2 separate regions of the Homo sapiens genome follow, and region 1 is linked to region 2. The links are contacts of gene promoters, found by promoter capture Hi-C in human tissues and cell types (Jung and others, 2019). All regions are on one chromosome and are shown on one strand. Each heading gives the region's core, a stretch centred on a gene start or on the middle of the fragment in contact. The rest is flanking DNA. Distances are from core to core; before and after follow the strand shown.

Region 1 (3,395 bases), core at 611-3,110, 470 kb after region 2:
GCCACACAGCCTCAGCTTGAATCTGGTTCATTGCGTCCTCGTGTTCTTCTCTCATCCTTGCCTTAAACCAGGGATTCTGATACCGAAGAAGAGGGGCCAATGAAAACCATGGAGTCTGTTCGTGACTCCCAGGGCTGGGACATTATGTAGGAGCCACTTCATAAACATTCTCTTTACTCATCTTTTTATTCTGTTTTTTGTGGCCTTCTTTTTGTGTTTCCCCCCCGAAACAGAGTCTCGCTCTGTCACCCAGGCTAGAGTACAGTGGTGCAATCTCGCCTCACTGCAACCTCCACCTCCCAGGTTCAAGTGATTCTTGTGCCTCAGCCTCCCGAGTAGCTGACATCCGCCACCAAGCCCAGCTAATTTCTTTCGTATTTTTAGTAGAGATAGAGTTTTGCCATGTTGGCTAGTTTGATCTTAAACTCTTGGCCTCAAGTGATCTGCCTGCCTCAGACTCCCAAAGTGCTGGGATTACAGGCGTTGAGCCACCGTTCCGGCCTTAAGGCCTCTGCTTTTATGTGGGATTTGTGGGTAGCCTAGAACTACTTTTTAGTGGGCCACATATTGGGATAGGCAATAAAGCCTAAGGCATCTACAACTGGGAAGTCAGATCAGAAACCCCTCCCACTTAAATCTGGGCCCCTCAAGGATGACAAGATCATTTAGTGGGTGAACCAATCCCACAACTCCCCTACTTGGCTTTGGTTTTGGATGCAAGGGATGTTAAGAGGTAGGGATATAAAGCTTCCATGGTAATATACAAGCACAGCTGGCCTTCAGTACTGTTTGGGACAAGAGTTTATAACCCATGTGGTCTGGAAAATCCTCAGGCTGATAACTTAGTTTAAAATAGTCTCAAGTAGGCTGGGCGTGGTGGCTCACACCTGTAATCCCACCACTTTGGGAGGCCGAGGCAGGCGGATCACCTGAGGTCAGGAGTTCAAGACCAGCCTGGCCAACATGGTGAAACCCCATCTCTACTAAAAATACAAAATTAGCTGGGTGTGGTGGTGGGTGCCTGTAATCCCAGCTACTCAGGAGGCTGAGGTAGGATAATCACTTGAGCCTGGGAGGTAGAGGTTGCAGTGAGCCAAGATCGCACCACTGCACTCCAGCCTGGGCAAAAAGAGTGAAATCACCACCGCGCCCCCCCCCCCAAAAAAAAATGGCCAGGCATGGTGGCTCACACCTGTAATCCCAGCACTTTGGGAGGCAGAGGCAGGTGGATCACGAGGTCAGGGGTTCGAGACCAGCCTGACCAACATGGTGAAACCCTGTCTCTACTAAAAATACAAAAATTAGCCGGGTGTGGTGGTGGGCGCCTGTAATCCCAGCTACTCAGGAGGCTGAAGCAGGAGAATTGCTTGAACGCGGGAGGCGGAGGTTGCAGTGAACCAAGATCGCGCCACTGCACTCCAGCCTGGGCGACAGAGCGAGACTCCGTCTCAAAAAAAAAAAAAGTCTCAAGTAGATAGTGTCTCCAGGGTCCTGGCAGAAGCAAATGTAATCCTTTCTTGAGGATTGTTTTTTTTTTGTTTGTTTTTTGTTTTTGAGATGGAGTCTCACTCTGTCGTCCAGACTGGCAAAAATTAAAATGTGAGAAGTATAAAATAAAAAATACAAAATGTCTTATGTTTAAAGAAAAAGTGTGACAAATGAATATCAAAAGGTACTAAACTGGTGTGATTAAAAAGTAAAACTTAAGGCCGGTCACGGTGGCTCACGCCTGTGTTCCCAGCACTTTGGGAGGCCAAAGCGGGTGGATCACGAGGTCAGGAGATGGAGACCATCCTGGCTAGTACAGTGAAACCCTATCTCTACTAAAAATACAAAAAATTAGCCAGGCGTGGTGGCGGGTGCCTGTAGTCCCAGCTACTCTGGAGGCTGAGGCAGGAGGATGGCATGAACCTGGGAGGCAGAGCTTGCAGTGAGCCGAGATCGTGCCACTGCACTCCAGCCTGGGGAACAGAGCGAGACTCCATCTCAAAAAAAAAAAAAAAAAAAGTAAAACTTAAAAAGAAAACCTTTTAAAAATGAAAAGTAGGGCCAGGCATGGTGGCTCGTGCCTGTAATCCCAGCACTTTGGGAGGCTGAGGTGGGTGGATCGCCTGAGGTTGGGAGTTCGAGACTAGCCTGGCCAACATGGTGAAACCCCGTCTCTACTAAAAATACAAAAAATTAGCCGGGCGTGGTGGCGCATGCCTGTAATCCTAGCTACTTGGGAGGCTGAGGCAGGAGAATTGCTTGAACCTAGGAGGCGGAGGTTGCGGTGAGCCAAGATTGCGCCACTGCACTCCAGCCTGGGCAACAAGAGTGATACTCCACCTCAGAAAAAAAAAAGTACACTACGAGAAGTTAGAAACTTTATGGTTAAGCAGCAGATTAGACTTCTCCCTAAAGGGAGAATGAACTGGAAATAGATCTGAAGTTACACAGAGAGAGCACTGACATACAGAGAAGTGGAAACTAAGGAAAAGAGGTTAAAAAACATGGAAGAGGCTGGGTGTAGTTGCTGACACCTGTAATCCCAACTTTTTGGGAGGCATAGAGAGGACTGCTTGAGGTCCTCAGTTGGGGACCAGCCTGGGCAACATAAGGAGACCTTGTCTCTAAAAAAAAATTAAAAAATCAGACATGTGGCACATGCCTATAGTCCCAGCTTCTCTGGAGGCTCAGGCTGGAGGATTGCTTGACCCCAGGAACTTGAGGTTGCAGTGAGCTATGATGGCATCACTGCACTCCAGCCTGGGTGACAGAGCAAGATCCTGTCTATAAAACAACAAAATGAAGATAAATGTGAGACTTGACAATCAAAATTTCAGGAAAGAATATTTCAAAGAGGCTGGGCATTTTCTAGAATTTTTTTTGAGATGGGGTCTCCCTCTGTCGCCCAAGCTGGAGTGCAGTGGCACGATCTTGGCTCACTGTAACCTCTTCCTCCCAGGTTAAAGCTATTCTTCTGCCTCAGCTCCCTGAGCAGCTGGTATTTCAGGTGTATGCCACCACACCTGGCTAATTTTTTTTTTTGTAGGGATGGGGTTTCACCGTGTTGGCCAGCTGGTCTCAAACTCCTGACCTCAAGTAATCCACCCACCTAGGCCTCCCAAAGTGATAGGTTTACAGGTGTGAGCCACCGCACCTGGCCTAGTTTTTTTTTTGTTTTTTTTGTTTTTTTTTTAAGGCTAGATAAATCATAAGCCAGGAACATTTGAAAGTCTATCCAGCCTGGGCAACATGGTGAAACTGCATCTCTACAAAGAATACTCAGGCGGCTGAGGCAGGAGGATCACTTGAGCCTGGGAGGTCGAGGCAGTGAGCCGTGATTGTGCCACCCGTACTCCAACCTGGGTGACAGAGCAAGACCCTTTCTTAAAGAAAGAATGCCTACCTTA
Region 2 (3,716 bases), core at 462-2,961:
CTTTACAGTCTATTAACGACTTAAATTCTATGTTAGGACAGCTCAAGAGATGTTGTTTTTGCTTCTAGGCTGGGACAATCCCAGTTTTCTTCCAAGTTGACTCTGTCCTGAGTGGATCAGTGTAAGGAAGTTGGGCAAAAAAAGAAAAATACATAGAAGAATATTTCAAGATATCTCATTATAAATATCTGTACAGATATGTGCATACTTTTTTCTGGACAGACTCATAAGACAGTGTCAAAAATGATTTTCTTTGGGGAGAGGGACTTGGGGTAAGAGGAATAGGAAGTTTTCAATTTTCCTTTTTTAAAACATTCCTTTCGAGTTTGAATTTCTGATGTTTTATATGTATATATATATATAACTTTTAAAAAGTGATAAGAAGGCTTACTTGTATTGTGAGGTTACAGGGATACAGGCAGTTTCTTATTTCCTTTTTTAAAAAACTGGTTAATATCATAGTATTGGTTTAAAAAAAATCCCAAAACAACATAAACATAAACATGTCCTAAACCTGGTCTGGCTCAGAACTTTTCCCCCCTATATGTAATTTACAACCTACTTCTGGGAATAAATTAACACACTTGACAAAAGGTATAAACAATTTTCTGACAAACTCTAGAGACTGAAGACTTCTAAGAAGCCCAGTCACCCAGCTGTCAGTCAAGAGTCTAATTACCTTTAACTAAACATAGTTTTCTTTGATAGCTAGTCTAACAATGTTTACCTATTTCTTTTTTTTTTTTTTCCTTCTTTTTTGATACAGGGTCTCAGCTGTGTCACGCAGGCTGGAGTGCAGTGGGCTGATCACAGCTCACGATGGCCTCAACTGCCTGGGCTCAAGCAATCCTCCTGCCTCAGCTTCCCGAGTAGCTGGGACTACAGGCGTGCCACCACACCTGGCTAATTTTTTGATTTTTATCAAGAGGGTCTCGCTATGTTGTCCAAACTGGTCTCAAACTCCTGGGCTCAAGTAGTCTGCCCCCCTCGGCCTCCCAAAGTGCTGGAATTACAGGCATGAGCCACCAAGCTTGGTCTGATTATCTGTAGAAATTAAATGTCTCTATCAAGAGGAAATCTTTTAATTGGCCTAATAGACTCTTTTTCCTTTGCAGCAAGATTTGTGATAAAGTTTATAAGTGGTCATCACTAAAGTTTTTGAAAAATTTTTTAAAACATGTTTTAAACCTTCAAAAAAGTGGGTAATGTTCACCTCCATTACTCGTATAAAAGATATGGGTTCGATGGATGACAGGACATAGAACCACAGGAATAGAATGTAATTCATTCATTCCTTTGACAAGTATTTGAGTGCCTACCCTATGCCAGACTGGCAAGTCCTTGAGGGTCTACCATGTGCCAGGCAGTGTTCTTGAAGCTGGGGATACAAAAATGAACAAACGAGATTCGGAGAATAAAACTACAGTTCCCACAGTATCTTTCTCTTTGGCTTTTTTCCAGGGGGCGCTGCTTTCCGCGACTGTCTTCCCATGATTCTCGTTGGGCAGAAAAGCCCCGCCCGCTTATCTGCCATTTAAGCCAGCGCCCCTTGAGAATGGACTACAACTCCCACAATGCATTCGAGGGGCACCGTGTTAGGGCGCCACCTTTTTCCCGGCTGTGCTGTACCTACAGCACCCAGAACTACAGTACCCAGAAAGCTCCGCTTCCCCTCCTGGGTGTTATTGCCCCTTTCCTGGTGCAGGACGCGGTAGTGGCCAGCGAGAGTGTCAGGCCTGGGGTTTTCTGTGTCCTTCCCTGGGTCAGGGACGAGCCAGTGACTTGACTCTTGGGCGCTAAGCTTGGGAGGGAGCGCAGGAGGCCGCTGTCCTTCCTTTCCGGTTCACGTCACCCTTCTCTCCCTCTGTTGCTCCACCTGCAGCCACTTGGACGGCTCCGGGACTGATTGCCTGGGGCAGGGGTGGCAGTCGAGGCCGCCGGGGCCGAGGTGAGGCTGCAGCTCTCCGGGCGGCGGTAGCGCTGGGGAGGAGGAGGAGAGAAGATGGCGTCGGAGCTAGAGCCAGAGGTGCAGGCCATCGACCGGAGCTTGCTGGAATGTTCGGCCGAGGAGATTGCGGGGGTGAGTGCCGGAACCCGGGCGGGTGCGTCTGCCCCTCGCAGGCCGCGCCTGTGGGGAGGAACCGACTCCTGGACGTCCTGGAGCAGCCCGACCCAGACTTGGGGAAACAGCTGTGCCGGCCCTCGCCTTGTGGGGTAATAGCCCGGGGAGGCCACCGATCCTGCCCCTCTCTTTCCATTTTCAACAGCTGCCAGAGCTGCGCTGTGCACTAACTACGTTTACTTTCCCTTTCTGCCCAGGAGAACCCACGGCTCTTCCATCATACCTCCTTTCCCCCAGCCTCCCATTAAGTCTCCCAACACATGGGCCTTTGCCCTTTATATCAGCTCTTGGAAGAGGAGAAGAGACGCTTCTTGTGTTTTTGGTATAATCGCCCTAGTTTATCTAGTTAATTGCTTTTCCTGAGACAAGCGAAGCCGTGTGCTCCTCCGACTAAACATGCCACCCTAACCGAGCCCCTCTTTTGTTTTTGGGACTGCCCCAGGCACCAAGAAGGCAAACGACACTACCCTTCGTTATCCGTTTCAGTGCTATCTTTTTTTTTTGCACCGGTTTGATTAGTTGACAACGTTGATGCATGTGTGGAAAGTTTACTGAGTATGAGAAAGTAGTCGTGGAGTCTGGGAAATTTTAAAAATATTTTTTCTAGGAGTTAGGGGTAATTGGATGGAGAACAAATGTTATATAACGTTGATAGAGCAGCTTTCAACAAATACTGTATAAGCTAAACGTGAGAACTGGTCACAGTGTAGTAGGAGCAGTTATATTCCAAACGTAAAACCGTTCAAACGCACTATTGCATTAAAACTGTAATATGAATATGCTAGTGTAAATAGCAGAGTTGTAGGAACACCCATTAGAAGAGATTGCCGAGAATGATTATGAATGGACCAAGACAGCTTGGGCCCCACCTCTAAGACCTCCAATTAAAAAGGCTGCTAGGAAGGGAGTGACCCGTGAATAAAAGTCAGCAATCTGAATGCTACGAACAAAATTTGGGATTGGGGGCACTGTGGAGCTGTTGGTCAGTGAGTAGTTATTTTGCGTGAATTGGTGAGGACATTAAGTCCGGGTAGAAAGAAATGTCAGGAGTAGAGGTGAAGACTTTAAAGAAATACGTTGTTAAATGCTGAATCTTTGCTTGTTTGGGTGTGTTTTGTTGTTGTTTGTTTTTGTTTTTGAGACGGAGTTTCGCTTTCGATGCCCAGGCTGGAGTGCAGTGGCGCGATCTCAGCTCACCGCAACCTCAGTCTCCCGGGTTCAAGCGATTCTGCTGCCTCAGCCCCTCGAGTAGCTGGGATTACAGGCATGCACCACCACGCCCGGCTAATTTTGTATTTTTAGTAGAGTTGGGGTTTCTCCATGTTGGTCAGGGTGGTCTCAAACTCCCGACCTCAGGTGATCCACCTGTTTGGGCCTCCCAAAGTGCTGGGATTACAGGCGTGAGCCACTGCGCCCTGCCTTGGTGTGTTTTTTTAAACCTACTTACTTGTTTAGCCTAGGTCTGTTTTCATTTACTTTCTACTTAATGTTGTACAACTCAAGGAATTTCTGCCTTTCGTTTATCGGAGATTTGAAAAAAGAAAATGAAAGTAGTGTTACAAGTAAACTGTTAAATAATAATGACAGCTGTTTG

The links. Contacts are between HindIII fragments. The study calls those that stand out against the background at their distance.
Region 1: a contact is called between a fragment that was not itself captured here and the fragment with the promoter of UBR2 in region 2, in 1 of the 25 tissues and cell types used here (spleen).

What each region holds. Positions count from the first base shown.
Region 1 is chr6:43,029,418-43,032,812 of GRCh38, forward strand. RRP36 (ribosomal RNA processing 36) reads left to right here. Exons shown (of 7, transcript NM_033112.4): 7 at 1-182. Among named protein-coding and RNA genes, the nearest start is that of RRP36, 9.5 kb to the left of the region's middle. The HindIII fragment of the contact is 7,304 bases long and covers 1-3,395 here.
Region 2 is chr6:42,562,318-42,566,033 of GRCh38, forward strand. It overlaps UBR2 (ubiquitin protein ligase E3 component n-recognin 2), which reads left to right and starts at 1,712. Exons shown (of 47, transcript NM_001363705.2): 1 at 1,712-2,080. The coding sequence starts at 2,003. RefSeq lists enhancers at 1,274-1,353, 1,424-1,943 and a silencer at 2,976-3,105. The HindIII fragment of the contact is 6,066 bases long and covers 1-3,716 here.